Regions from separate parts of the Homo sapiens genome. Here region 2 is linked to region 1. Evidence: promoter capture Hi-C in human tissues and cell types (Jung and others, 2019). All regions are on one chromosome and are shown on one strand. Each heading gives the region's core, a stretch centred on a gene start or on the middle of the fragment in contact. The rest is flanking DNA. Distances are from core to core; before and after follow the strand shown.

Region 1 (6,555 bases), core at 2,506-5,005:
AAGTATCTAGGTATCTTTCCAGTTTTCTCTGCCATAAACCATTACTTTAGTTACAGAAACAGGAGCTTTCTCAATACACTATTCTGCGCCTTGCTTCTCTCTCTCTCTCTCTTTTTCTCCCTCTCTCTCTCACACACATGTCTTGAAATTTATCTCCTAACCACCCAAGTAGATCTTGTTATTATTTTCTTTTAATTTTTTTTTCTTTTTTTGAGACAGAGTCTCATTCTGTTTCCCAGGCTGGAGTGCAATGGTGTGATCACAGCTCACTGCAGCCTCGACCTCCTGGGCTGAAGCAATCCTCTCACCTCATCCTCCTGAGTAGCTGGCACTACAGGCATGCATCACCACACCCAGCTAATTTTTTCATTTTTTGTGAAGAAGGGGTCTCCTTATGTTGCCCAGGCTGGTCTCAACCTTGTTACTTTTTAGTAGCTATTATCCCCCTGGATGGACATGTAGACCATTTAAAATCTTATATGCTACAATGTACTTCCTTGTACATGTATCTTTGCACTCATGTGTGACAATATTTGTAAGAGAAATCTTCCAAAGCAGAATTGCTGTGTCACAGGATATGGGCATCTTTAATTTCAGCAAATGTTGCCAGAGAGCCTTCTAGCGACTGCACCAGTGATACTCCTACAAAAAGATGAGAAGATGCCTTTTTAAAGCTATTTACTATTAAACTTTTAATCTTGGCTAATCTGATAAATGAAAAAATGAAATCTCATTGCTGTTTTGCTTTTATATAACCTTTTTTTTTTTTAAGAGACAGAGTCTTGGCCTGTCACCCAGGCTGAAGTGCAGTGTTGCAATCATGGCTCACTGCAGCCTTGAACCTGAGTAGCTGAGTAGCTGGAACTACCGATATGCACCACCATGTCTGGCTAATTTTTATTTTTATTTATTTATTTATTTTTGAGACAAAGTCTCGCTCTGTTGCCCAGACTGGAGTGCAGTCTCAGCTCACTGCAGCCTCCGCCTCCCAGGTTCAAGCAATTCTCATGCCTCAGTCACCCAAGTAGCTGGGATTACCGGTGTACCCCACCACACCCGGCTAATTTTTGTATTTTTTAGTAGAGACGGGGTTTCACCATGATGGCCAGGCTTGTCCCTAACTTCTGATCTCAAGTGATCTGCCCACCTTGGCTTCCCAAAGTGCTGGGATTACAGGCATGAGCCACCTTGCTGGGCCACGGCTAATTTTTAAATTGTTTTGTGGAGACAGGGTCTCACTATGTTTTCCAGGCTGGTCTCGAACTCCTGGGCTCAAGCAATCCTCCTACCTCAGCCTCCCAAATTTTGGGGATTATAGGCATGAACCACCATACCTGGCCTGCTGTTTCAGTTTTATTTCATGACCACCCTCGTTACAAGTAAGGTTGAGCATCTTTTCATATATTACAATTTATATTTCTTTTTCTTTGAACTACCTAATACTGCTCTTTGTCCATGTATATTTTGGGATGTTGGTCATTTTCTTATAGATCTGAGAGCTCTTTTTATACTACAGAACAGCATTTGCTTCTCATATGTGTTGAAAGTACCCTTCACAGTTCCATTACCTTCTGACTCTGGAGGTTTTGTCTTACACATATTTTTAATTTTTCTGGAGTCAGTTTTACTGTTCTTTTCCTTTATGTTTCTAGGTTTTCTATTTTCCTTTGTAACACCTTCTCTACTCTAAGATTATTTTTCATATTGCCTTCATTTTCTTCTATTGCCTTTACAGTTTCGTCTTCGACCTTTCTGGGATTCGTTGTGGGATAAGCCATGAGATAGATATCTGGCTTTGTTTTTCTCTAAATACTAACCAGTTGTCCTAATACCATAAAGTGCACAATTTCTCATTTCCTCCATTTATATGAAATCCTACCTTTATCCCACACATATCACCATCTTCCAGGTCCCTATTTGGATGTCCTGACCTCCTAGAGTGGTTGGAAGAACAAATGAAATCATATTCATGAAAACACCATGGAGTCATCACAACTTGCTAATGTTGTAAGGTGGCATGTGATGGTTACTTGCACAAGCCCATCAGAAAGGACACCTCAGGGAGCGTCAGCTCCCCTCACCAACACCCCAACACTGGTGGCCAGGAGATGACTGTCTTTGGTGATTTAGACCTTGAGAGTAAAGTCAAATTGTGCCCAGCAGGGAGGCAGCATAGTGTGGCATGAAATGAACACACGCCGGGTTTGTGTCCCAGCTCTGCCACCCATGGCTGGGACCTCAGTCAAGTCATCAAACCTCCCCAGTGAACAGGTCACACCTCTTGAAAATGACAGTGTGGGTCAGGACTACCTTTCCTTCAGGTAGTCCTCAGTAATTTATATAGTGCTTTCACGGGATTGATGTAACCTGCCCAAAGCCACAGGGCTATTTAGACATGAATCTTCTCTCAAATCAGCAGGTGCTTCCCATCACACCACACCACCCTTTCTCAGTCCTAAGGACTCTGTACCCTCCAAGACTGAGTCTAGCTGAGGCGTCAGCCATCTAAGGAGGAATTCAAAACTCTGTGGCCTTGGGACTAAAAAGAAGAGTCTGATTTATTTCGCAATGTCACCCTCCAAAAAAGAAGGTGGAAACTAGGAGGGTCTGGCTTAGTCCCTTTGCAGAGTTTCAAAGCAGCCATTCCTTGGCTTATCAAGCAGCTTCTCAAGCAAGAGAGAAGGCTGCTGAGCAAACCCTGCTGGGAGGTTACAGAGGGCTTGTGGGCTGGGGAGTCAGCAGAGGGGTTCAAACCCAGCCTCGTTGTTCCCTAGCAGCACCCGGACTCCCTGAAGTAAAACTGAGGGCTCTGGTGTCTGCTCTTGGTGGTGGTAGGCGGCTGCATCCTCATGGGACACAGAGCCTGGCACATGACTCCGCTCTGCTATTCCCCACTCTGAGAAGCAATGACACTGCTGACAGCAGCAGACAGACCCTCTGCAGTAGGGAAATCCATCAGGTGACCTTGAGAAAGGACAGGACACATTGAGAGACATTCTACAAAATAACTGGTCTGTACTCTTCAAAAGTGTTGAAGTCACAAAACTCCAAGAATGACAGAAGAACTATTCCAGACAAAGGAGACCGAAGAGGCACAACAACGGAATGCAAAGCCTAACCCAGGATTTTCTTCTGCTATAAATGACATTATTGGGACAGTTGATGAAATCTGCATAAAATCTGTGGGTTGGATAACAGTATTGAAATGGTGTTCATGTCCTGGTCTTCATAATTGTATTGGTTACGTAAGAGAATGTCCTTGTCTTTAGGAAATACACACCAAAATATTTAATAATGTAATATCTGCAACTTACTCTCAAGAGTTCAAAAAATATATATTTGTCTATCTATCTGTCTATATCATCTATCTGTCCACTGATCGAGAAGGATAAAGCAAATGCAGTAATAATTTAGGGAATCTGGATAAAGGATATATGGAAATTCTTCTTTTTATTCTTGCAATCTTTTTGTAAATCTGAAATTATGCCTAAATGAAAAGTTTGTGGGTTTTCTAAAAAGGGATGAGACAGAAAGCAAGCAGCACCAGGGCCACAAGTCAGGGTGAGAGGGCAATGGCCCCAGGCACCCGGCAGAGGCAAGAGAGCAGTTTAGGGCCAGCTGGCTGAAGGGGCATGTGGGGCTCCATGGAGATTTCACCCACTCACCTTTTGATGCATCCATCATCCCTTCAGATTCTCTCCTGCAATGCCAGGGAAGACTCTATCTCTGATGCCTGGTGCTTCCACACAGTCGGTCCTCAGGGGAGGAAACAGCCCTTTTTATGTGATCCTGGGCTAGATGTGGCCTTGCTATGGCTGCCAAGGGGCGGGGTTTGGGAAGGCGATGTTGATTAGAAATAATAAAATCCCGGAATCTTCCATATCAGACCCAGGAAATCAGGAGCCAAGATGAGCTGATGTAAAAGGGACAGACAACGGACAATGGCACCTCCTTGTCTGTTATATGAGCCTAACAGTGGGTGACCAAAAGCCAGGACCCTATGACCTACACCACATGTGGCCTGACATTCTGGTTACTATCAAGCTTAAGTCTAGGAACCCAGGCTAACCTTTACTGACTTTAGGGTTTTCTTCTTCTTCTCTTTTCTTCAAGTTGAAAAAGTAAGAGATGCTTGTGAGTTTTTTGTTTTACATTTTGAATATATAATGCATCCACATGGTTCAAAATGGAAAAAAATGCCCCCTGTCCACCTTGTTGAATCCTACTACCAGTTTCTTTTAGATCTTTCCAGAGATGTTGTATGCACTGAGAAGCAAATAATGTACTATTATTATTATTTTGTTATTTAGTTTTTATTTCATAATCATAAACTTAACTCTGCAATCCAGCTAGGCATGGAAGGGAACAAGGAAAACATGGAACCCAAAGGGAACCGCAGCGAGAGCACAAAGATTCTAGGATACTGGGAGCAAATGGGGTGGAGGGTGCTCCCCTGAGCTACAGAAGGAATGGTCTGGTGGTTAAGATAAAACACAAGTCAAACTTATAAGAGCTGTCCACAGTCAGCAATGGTGATCTTCTGGCCGGTCTTGCCATTCCTGGACACAAAGCACTCCATGGCCTCCACAATATTCATGCCTTCACCTTGCCAAAGACCACAAGCTTGCCATCCAACCACTCAGTCTTGGCAGTGCAGATTAAAAACTGGGAACCATTTGTATTGGGTCCAGCATTTGCCATGGACAACATGCCAGGACCTGTATGCTTTAGGATGAAGTTCTCATCATCAAATTTCTCCCCATAGATGGACTTGCCACCAGTGCCATTATGGCGTATGAAGTCACCACCCTGACACATAAACCCTGGAATAATTCTGTGAAAGCAGGAACTCTTATAACCAAATCCTTTCTCTCCAGTGCTCAGAGCACAAAAGTTTTCTGCTGGCTTTGGAACCTTGTCTGCAAACAGCTTGAAGGAGACGCAGGTCTAAAGGCTTGCCGTCAACGGTGATGTTGAAGAACACGGTGGGGTTGACGATGGCTGATGTTACAGGGCTCCTGGCGGCAGTGGCATCTGCAAAGCAAATAATGTATTATTTTGTTTTATTTACACAATGAGAGCATATCACTGCATTGCCCAGGCTGGTCTGGAATGCCTAGGCTCAAGGGATCCGCCCCACCTTCACCTCCCAAAGTACTGGGATTACAGGTGTGAGCCACCACGCCTGGCAAGATGGAGCTGTTCCTATTGCACATGGAGAGGTGGCCCAGTCTTTTCACAGCTGCACATATTCTGTTTGTGTGGATGGTCCCTAATTTATGTAACTCACCTCCCACCCATAGGCATCTGGGTTGCTTCCAATATTTCCTTATTACAATCAGTGTTGCAAAGAATAAGGTTATACAGAGATCATTTTACCCTCACATGAGTGTATCTATAGGAAGAATTGAATGCCTTGAAGTGGAAATGTTGGGCCAAAAAGCATAAGCTTTTGTAATTTTAATGGCTATCTGCTCTGCTCTCCACAGGGGCACTTGTGGTATTTTTCAATGATGTTATGTCTACTGAAAGGAGCCAGCCTGGCATAGTAGCAGAAATGCCAGAGGAAGAGAGGAGACTCCTGACACTGAAACCCCAACACCACAGTAACTTGCCGTGTGTCACTGGGAATGTTGTCTTCATTAGCTCCTTACCTGAAAAGTGAGGGGGCTGAATAATGATGCCAACGGTCTCTTCCAGACCAAAAGCCCAGGGATGGGCAATTGCCTTTGCTGGCTTTAAGGCAAGCCAGAGAGCAATGACCCTGGTTACTCTGAATAACAATAATGAAGTCAGAGGTTTTTGCTGTTCTGCAGGCAAGCATCTCAGCACCGCATCCCTAAATATAATAGAACAAACCAAGCCCTGAAGTGCACATGGCATTTACGAAAAGTCTTGGCTGGGTTCTGTCTGCAGAGAAGCCCTAGGCCCTATGATTACAGGCTCAGGAGTGGGAGAAGGATGCTTGCTTTTCTCTGTATTTCCTTTTACATCATCAGAATTTAGCACCATGTGCATGAATTACCTATTTAAGAATAAATTCACTACTTAAATGGAAAAAGCCTCTAAATAAAAGTCCTGGCCTAGGGGTGAGAGGGTCCGGGTTTTAGTTGCTTCACCTCTCTGAGCTTCTTTCATCATTTTTGACAAATAAGGGGCTTGTGCAAGATGAGCTTTCGCCAGTGCCTTCCAGGCCAGAGAATCCAGGGTACCAGAGTGAGTATAAAAGTGTCTAAAAGAAATAGACTTTGGGTCAGACAGAACTGGGCCTACATCCTGGGTCCTCTACAGATCCACTGTGTGACCTTGGGAAGTTACTTCTCTGTGCCTCTGTTTCTTCATCTGGGAGGTGGGAAATAATAACACCCACGCCACAGGTCAAGTGTCTGAAGCAGGATGCTGTGAAGAGGCAAAGGCATTCAAAATTCTCTGCAAGAAATGAGTTACACCGCGGACCTTACAAAGGACCCCCCCCATCCCAACAACCTCATTTCACAGCTGGAAAAAGTGCAGCCTAGAGAGAGGCAGCCACCTGGGCATCAGGAGAGGATCCCC
Region 2 (6,555 bases), core at 1-2,500, 33 kb after region 1:
CTGAGAACTGCCCTAAATAAAAAGATTGGGAATAATCTTCTCCATGAATAACAAAACTCAAGATAAGTGCTGTCTTTATATACATCCCTTGGTTAAAGTGAACAATTTGTGTTCCTAAACAAAAACTCCCTGCAGAGCAATGACCTCACAGGATAAATGCTATCTTCTGTGGAGCATCACATCCTTCCCCATGCACCTACACACCTACCCAGACACTCTTCCATGTGCCCCACCCCTGAGCCATGTGCACACCCCACTACTCAGACAACATACCATCAAGTAACTGGGTAAAAACACTATGAGGAAGCTTAAAAAAATGGAAAACAAGAAAGTATTTTAAATTTATCAGAGACTAAAAAAATCTCTAATATATAAAAATGCCTATGAATCAATAAGAAAAAGTCCAGTGATAGAAAAATGGGTAATGGATATTGTTCACAGAAACAGAAAAACAAGATGCTCAATTTTACTCTTAAGAAAAATATAAATGTAAAACTACATCATTTAATACTTTAGCTATTAAACGGACAAAGATCCGAAATTCAGATAGCACCATGAGGTGAGGTTTAAGGAAACATGCTCTCACCTTCATTCCTGATGAGAGCATAGCTGGCGCAACCTGTATATGACACCATTGTGTAAAAACCAAATGGGGCAGGAGAGAATGCTTAGCGATGTGGTTATGTATGCATTAAAAAGCTCTAAAAGAAAGGGGCTACCCTGGAAGCCTCCAGGGACAGCAAAGTAGGTGGATTAGTATCAGGGGTAGAAGGAATACTTTTCTCTGTCTACCTTTCAGTTCTGTGCTTTTTGAATTTTGTATCCTCAGTAACCATGAGGATGCTGCTTAGTTTAAAAAATTAAATTGGCCAGGCGCGGTGGCTCACACCTGTAATCCCAGCACTTTGGGAGGCTGAGGTAGGCGGATCATGAGGTCAGGAGATCAAGACCATCCTGGCTAACACAGTGAAACTCCGTCTCTACTAGAAAATACAAAAAATTAGCCGAGTGTGGTGGCGGGCGCCTGTAGTCCCAGCTACTCGGGAGGCTGAGGCAGGAGAACGCTGTGAACCTGGGAGGCGGAGCTTGCAGTGAGCCAAGATCACACCACTGCACTCCACCCTGGGCGACAGAGGCAGACTCCGTCTCAAAAAAAAAACAAAAAAAAAAAAATTAAATTTACTGGCTGGGCATGGTGGCATATACCTATAGTGCCAGATACTGGGTGGCTGAGGCAAATGGATCACTTGAGCCCAGCCTGGGCAACATAGCGAGACTTGGTCTCTTTAAAAATAATTAAATTTACTGGAAAAAAAATCCAATTACCTTCATTCTGAGGATTTCAGCATTTTTGACTTCTCTGTCTTCATTTAGCTTTGTTACAAGGTGTTCCAAAGAAGTCTTAGAGGCTCTTCCATCTTCTATCTCTTGTTCTTGTGTTTCCAGGAGTTTTGCCAAATGTGTTTGAAAGTGAGGTGGTGTCTTAGGACTCTAAAATAAAATCACATCTCATCCAAATATCCAATTAAGTGATATTATAAAGATTTCTTTTAAACGTAAATGTCAAGTACATAAAAAATATTCTAGCTACGGCTGGGCATGGTGGCTCACACCTGTAATCCTAGCACTTTGGGAGGCCGAGGTGGGCGGACTGCCTAAGCTCAGAAGTTCAAGACCAGCCTAGGCAACACAGTGAAACCCTGTCGCTACTAAAATACAGAAAAAAAAATTAGCCAGGCGTGGCAGTGTGCACCTGTAGTCCCAGCTACTTGGGAAGCTGAGGCAGGAGAATTGCTTGAACCTGGGAGACGGAGGCTGCAGTGAGCCGAGATCATGCCACTGCACTCCAGCCTGGGTGACAGAGCAAGACTCCATCTGCCAAAAAAAAAAAAAAAAAAAAAAAAAAAAATCCGCTGCTTAGCTTATTATTCTAATTCTTTTCCAAGGAAATAAAAGACTGCTACTTTCATCAAGTAAAAAGCAGACAGAGGGTATTAGTGAAAATCTTTTTCTTTAAAAAGACAAAGGTATGTTCTTCCTAATTTCCAAATTTTTATCATTTACAAAACTGTTTCTTCCTCCTGAAATAATCTTTTTCTGAAAAGTACCTGGGGATCCTCAGCAGCAGAATCCATCACATGTTCTAGTTGCCTCATTTTGAAGTTATATTCATTCTTCTTCTGTTCTACTTCCTCTTTCTTTTGGTTTAGCTGGGAAAATTGAACAGATACAAGGTTACAACTTAGTAATATGGGGTACATGGTCCAAATAGAAAAGACAAACTTCCCATCACCAATCATCAGGGAAATGCAAATGAAAACCACAATGAGATATCACTTCGCACCTGATAGGGATGGCTATCATCAAAAAGATGAAAGTTAAGTGTTGGTGAGGTTGTGGAGAAAAGGGATCCTTGTATACTGTTGGGAATGTAAATTAGCACAGCCATTGTGAAAAATAGTATGGAAGTTCCTCAACAAACTAAAAACAGAACTACTGTATGATCCAGCAGTCCCACCTCTGGATATATATCCAAAGGAATTAAAATCAGTCTATTGAAGAGACAGCGGCACTCCCATGTTCTCTGAAGCATTATTCGTAATAGCCAAGCTATGGAGTCAACTTAACTGTCTATTGATGGGAGAATGGGTAAAGAAAATGTGCTATATATATACACAATGAAATACTACTTAGTCTTAAAAAGGAAGCAAATTCTGTCATTTGTGACAACATGGATGAACCTGGAGGACACTGTTCCAAGTAAAATAAGCCAGCACAGAAAGACAAATACCACACAATCTCACTTATATGTGGAATCAAAAAAAGTTGAACTCATAGAAATGGAGAGTACCAGAGTCTGGGGGAAGTGAGGGGTGGAAGGAGACATGAATCAGCAATGGGAGATGTTGGTCAAAGGGTATAGTTTCAGTTGGACAGGAGGAATACCTTTTGGAGATCTACTGCAGGGCATGGTGATTACAGTTATTAGGTTGATGCAAAAGTAATTGCGGTTTCTTCCCATGGCATATGGAAATATGCTGTATTTACATTATTTTTTCAGAACTTGATTAATAATTTGAAAAGCAGTAAGATATTAAAATAAACCTATGATATTTTTAAAAGTAATTGTGAAATCTAACTTGGTTGCTACTATAACCCAATCATCATCTCCTTTTCTTTTCTTTTTTTTTTGAGATGGAGTCTCTCTCTGTCGCCCAGGCTGGAGTGCAGTGGCGCGATCTCGGCTCACTGCAAGCTCCGCCTCCCGGGTTCACACCATTCTCCTGCCTCAGCCTTCCCGAGTAGCTGGGACTACCGGAGCCGGCCACCACGCCCGGCTAATTTTTTTTGTGCTTTCAGTAGAGACGGGGGTTCACCGTGTAAGCCAGGATGGTCTTGATCTCCTGACCTCGTGATCCACCCACCTTGGCCTCCCAAAGTGCTGGGATTACAGGTGTGAGCCACCGCACCTGGACCCATCTCCTTTTCTCTCACAAATTTATTTATACTTATAAAAATGTTCCAAGTTTCACAAGTAACAAAACAGTCATCTGAGAAAAATACAAAATATAAAATGACAACAACAACCACCAAAAATATGATAAAAGTCAGGCATAACCTCACTGGAGTGGTTAGAACTGGTTGCCATGTGTCAAGGACCTAAGGTGGGTGGGAGGCAGCTGAGCAAGTCTCAGTCCAGGTAAGGATACTCCATTAGCCTCCCCTTTGTACATGGAGAAGTTGGCCAATGCAGGAATGTCATGACAACCTCAACTGTGGATTCCTCCTGTCCCCCATTTTTTTTTTTTTTTTTTTTGAGACAGGGTCTCACTCTGTCACCCAGGCTGGAGTGCAGTGGTGCAATCTTGGCTCATTGCAACCTCCACCTCCCAGGTTCAAGCAATTCTTGTGCCTCAGCCTCCCAAGTAGCTGGGATTACAGGTGAGCGCCACCACGCCCGGCTAACTTTTCTATTTTTAGTAGAGACAGGGTTTCAGTTCACCATGTTGGCCAGACTGCTCTTGAACTCCTGACTTCAAGTGGTCCACCCCCTTGGCCTCTCAAAGTGCTGGGATTACAGGAGTGAGCCACTACACTTGGTCTCTTGTCTCCCATCTTGAGTGACACCTGTGTGTTTCTCACCTTGTGCTGAAGTTCCTGAATCAGGGCTTCCTTCTTGGTCAGTTCTTCCTGGGCAGACTGCAGCAGCCCCGAGTGTTTTTTTGAGGCCTCTGTGAGCATGTTCAGCTGCTCAGTGGCATGAGCCAGGTCCTCACAGAGCATATCCCTCTGTTAGGAGACAATCATCACAGTTTCTTAATTATGGTATTCCAATAAGGATTCCCAAATCATTACTATGTACAACTTTTAACAGACTAAGGAAGTTTTATGTAAAAACCTATTTCTTTTGCTTGTGTGCTAATCCATTCTAAGACAAAGTAATCAGTTAATATTTAGATGAACAGGTCTAGAGATTAACATTATTACAGTAAACATATATAGGTATCCCAATTGAGGTTTAACTGTACTCTAGGTTTGAGGTCTAATTGCATTCTCTCCTCACCCCCAGGATCTCAAGCCAATCTCCCTCTCCTGGGGAGGACTCAAAGGTCTCTTGGTTACTTGTTGTTGTCTCACCAATTGACTCTAGTCCTTTATATACTGGAAAGTAAACAGCTGTGAAGATGAGCCTCCATCAGCCAGTTGAGGAGGGCCTGGGCAGTTTGCACCAGATTGTGATTCATTGTCATAGACCATCAAAGTTTCAGGAAGTAGCTTTGTGGAAACTGGCACAGAAAATTAGAAGTCCTATAGGTTGCATACATAATTTCTATGTACACAGTATATGTAATTCCTCCCAAATTAGAGCAGATACTGCTTATCCTTCTTTTCCTTTCCAAATGTATATATATGTATGTAGGTATGTGTGTGCATGTATATATATATATACACACACATATATATGTGTGTACATAGACATGTACATATACATGGATATACACAGATATATATACACACATATAAACACACACTTTTAAAAAAACTTGACACATCACAAACATTTCTGCATGTACTCACTCTTTTCACTGTGTGGACTCCATTTCACCTTATGGATGTACCACAATTTAATCTATCACTAAATATTTTGGTTGATTTGAATTTTTCACTATTCTATGCACTTCATTCTTGTATCTAGATTATTTCTTTAGGCTGAATTTTTAAAAGTGCAAACTCAAAGGATATGTAAAAAATATAAGGCTATGTATTACCAGACTACCTCCCCAAAGGCTGAACATAAACTCCTCCAGAAGTTTGAGTAATCATCCTTGTCTGCACATCTTCCTTGGGTCTTAAACTTTACCAGTTATAAGATTAGAAAATAGCTGTTATTTTAATTTGTGAAACTGGCCCAACTGTCCCCTAGAACTGATGTTTATGGTTTCTTTTGAATAAACATAGAAATTGGCCCTCCCAGTCTTAAAACGTAAGAAAGTTACATTTGTCTTATCTGAGTTCCTTTCTCAGGGAACCAACCAACAGGCATCCCAGACAAGATCAAGGAACTGAAACTTACCAGATCATGGCAACTGGACAAATGAGATGCCAGGCCCCTCACCTGTCATGGCTGCCTAACTGACAACCTGTTTCCTGTTAACCAACTCCTTTTCCTTACCCCTCCCTAGTTCCTGCTTTTCCACACATGGTTACCTTTCTTGCTATATAAACTCCCAATTTTAGTCAGTCAGGGAGAAGGATTTGAGACTGATCTCCTATCTTGGCTATGGCACTCATTTAAAGTCTTCTTCGCTGGCAATACTCCTTGACTCAGTGATTGGCTTTCTGTGTGGTAAGCAACCAGACCTAGGCTGAACTCCTAATGTTTCAGGAACATTTGCATGTCTCTGATTCCAAAGAAGTTTTGTGCCACTATATTCCTTCTTTGGGGAGCTACCTATGTCCATTTTCCACCAGCTGTGTTTCTATCCTTCTCCTGAAGGATAAATTAAGGTGGTAAAATACTTTGTCATCAGTTGCAAATATTTTCCCCATCTGTTGTTAGAATTTTTGTTTTTAATATTGTATAATCTTCCCTTATGAGTTCTAATCTTTATATCAAGATATTTTCAGAGTCACATAAACTCAAGATATTTTTATGTATTTGTATTTTTTCTTCTCCTTAAAAAAAAATTATTTATTTATTTATTTTTTTAGACAGAGTCTTGCTCTGTCGCCCAGATAGAGTGCAGTGGCGTGATCTCATCTAACTGTAACCTCCACCTCCCAGGTTCAAGCGATTCTCATGCCTCAGCCTCCTGAGTAGTTGGGATTACAGGTGTACACCACCACACCTGGCTAATTTTTCTAATTTTTGTATTTTTAGTAGAGATGGGGTTTCGTCATGTTGGGCAGGCTGGTCTTGAGCTCCTGGCCTCAAGTGATCCACCTGCCTTGGCCTCCCAAAGTGCTGGGATTACAGGTGTGAGTCACCGTGCCCATCCCTCCTTTTGTTTTTTCAGAGATGGGGGCTCTTGCAACAACATTACCCAGGCTGGA

What was found. Contacts are between HindIII fragments. The study calls those that stand out against the background at their distance.
Region 2: a contact is called between a fragment that was not itself captured here and the fragment with the promoter of TGM4 in region 1, in 3 of the 25 tissues and cell types used here (mesenchymal stem cells, pancreas and spleen).

The regions. Positions count from the first base shown.
Region 1 is chr3:44,871,808-44,878,362 of GRCh38, reverse strand. It overlaps TGM4 (transglutaminase 4), which reads right to left and starts at 3,755. Exons shown (of 14, transcript NM_003241.4): 1 at 3,666-3,755. The coding sequence starts at 3,684. It also overlaps the pseudogene PPIAP18. The HindIII fragment of the contact is 8,283 bases long and covers 1-4,334 here.
Region 2 is chr3:44,836,010-44,842,564 of GRCh38, reverse strand. It overlaps KIF15 (kinesin family member 15), which reads right to left. Exons shown (of 35, transcript NM_020242.3): 27 at 4,144-4,290; 28 at 2,109-2,210; 29 at 1,327-1,491. Among named protein-coding and RNA genes, the nearest start is that of MIR564, 23 kb to the left of the region's middle. The HindIII fragment of the contact is 7,865 bases long and covers 1-5,182 here.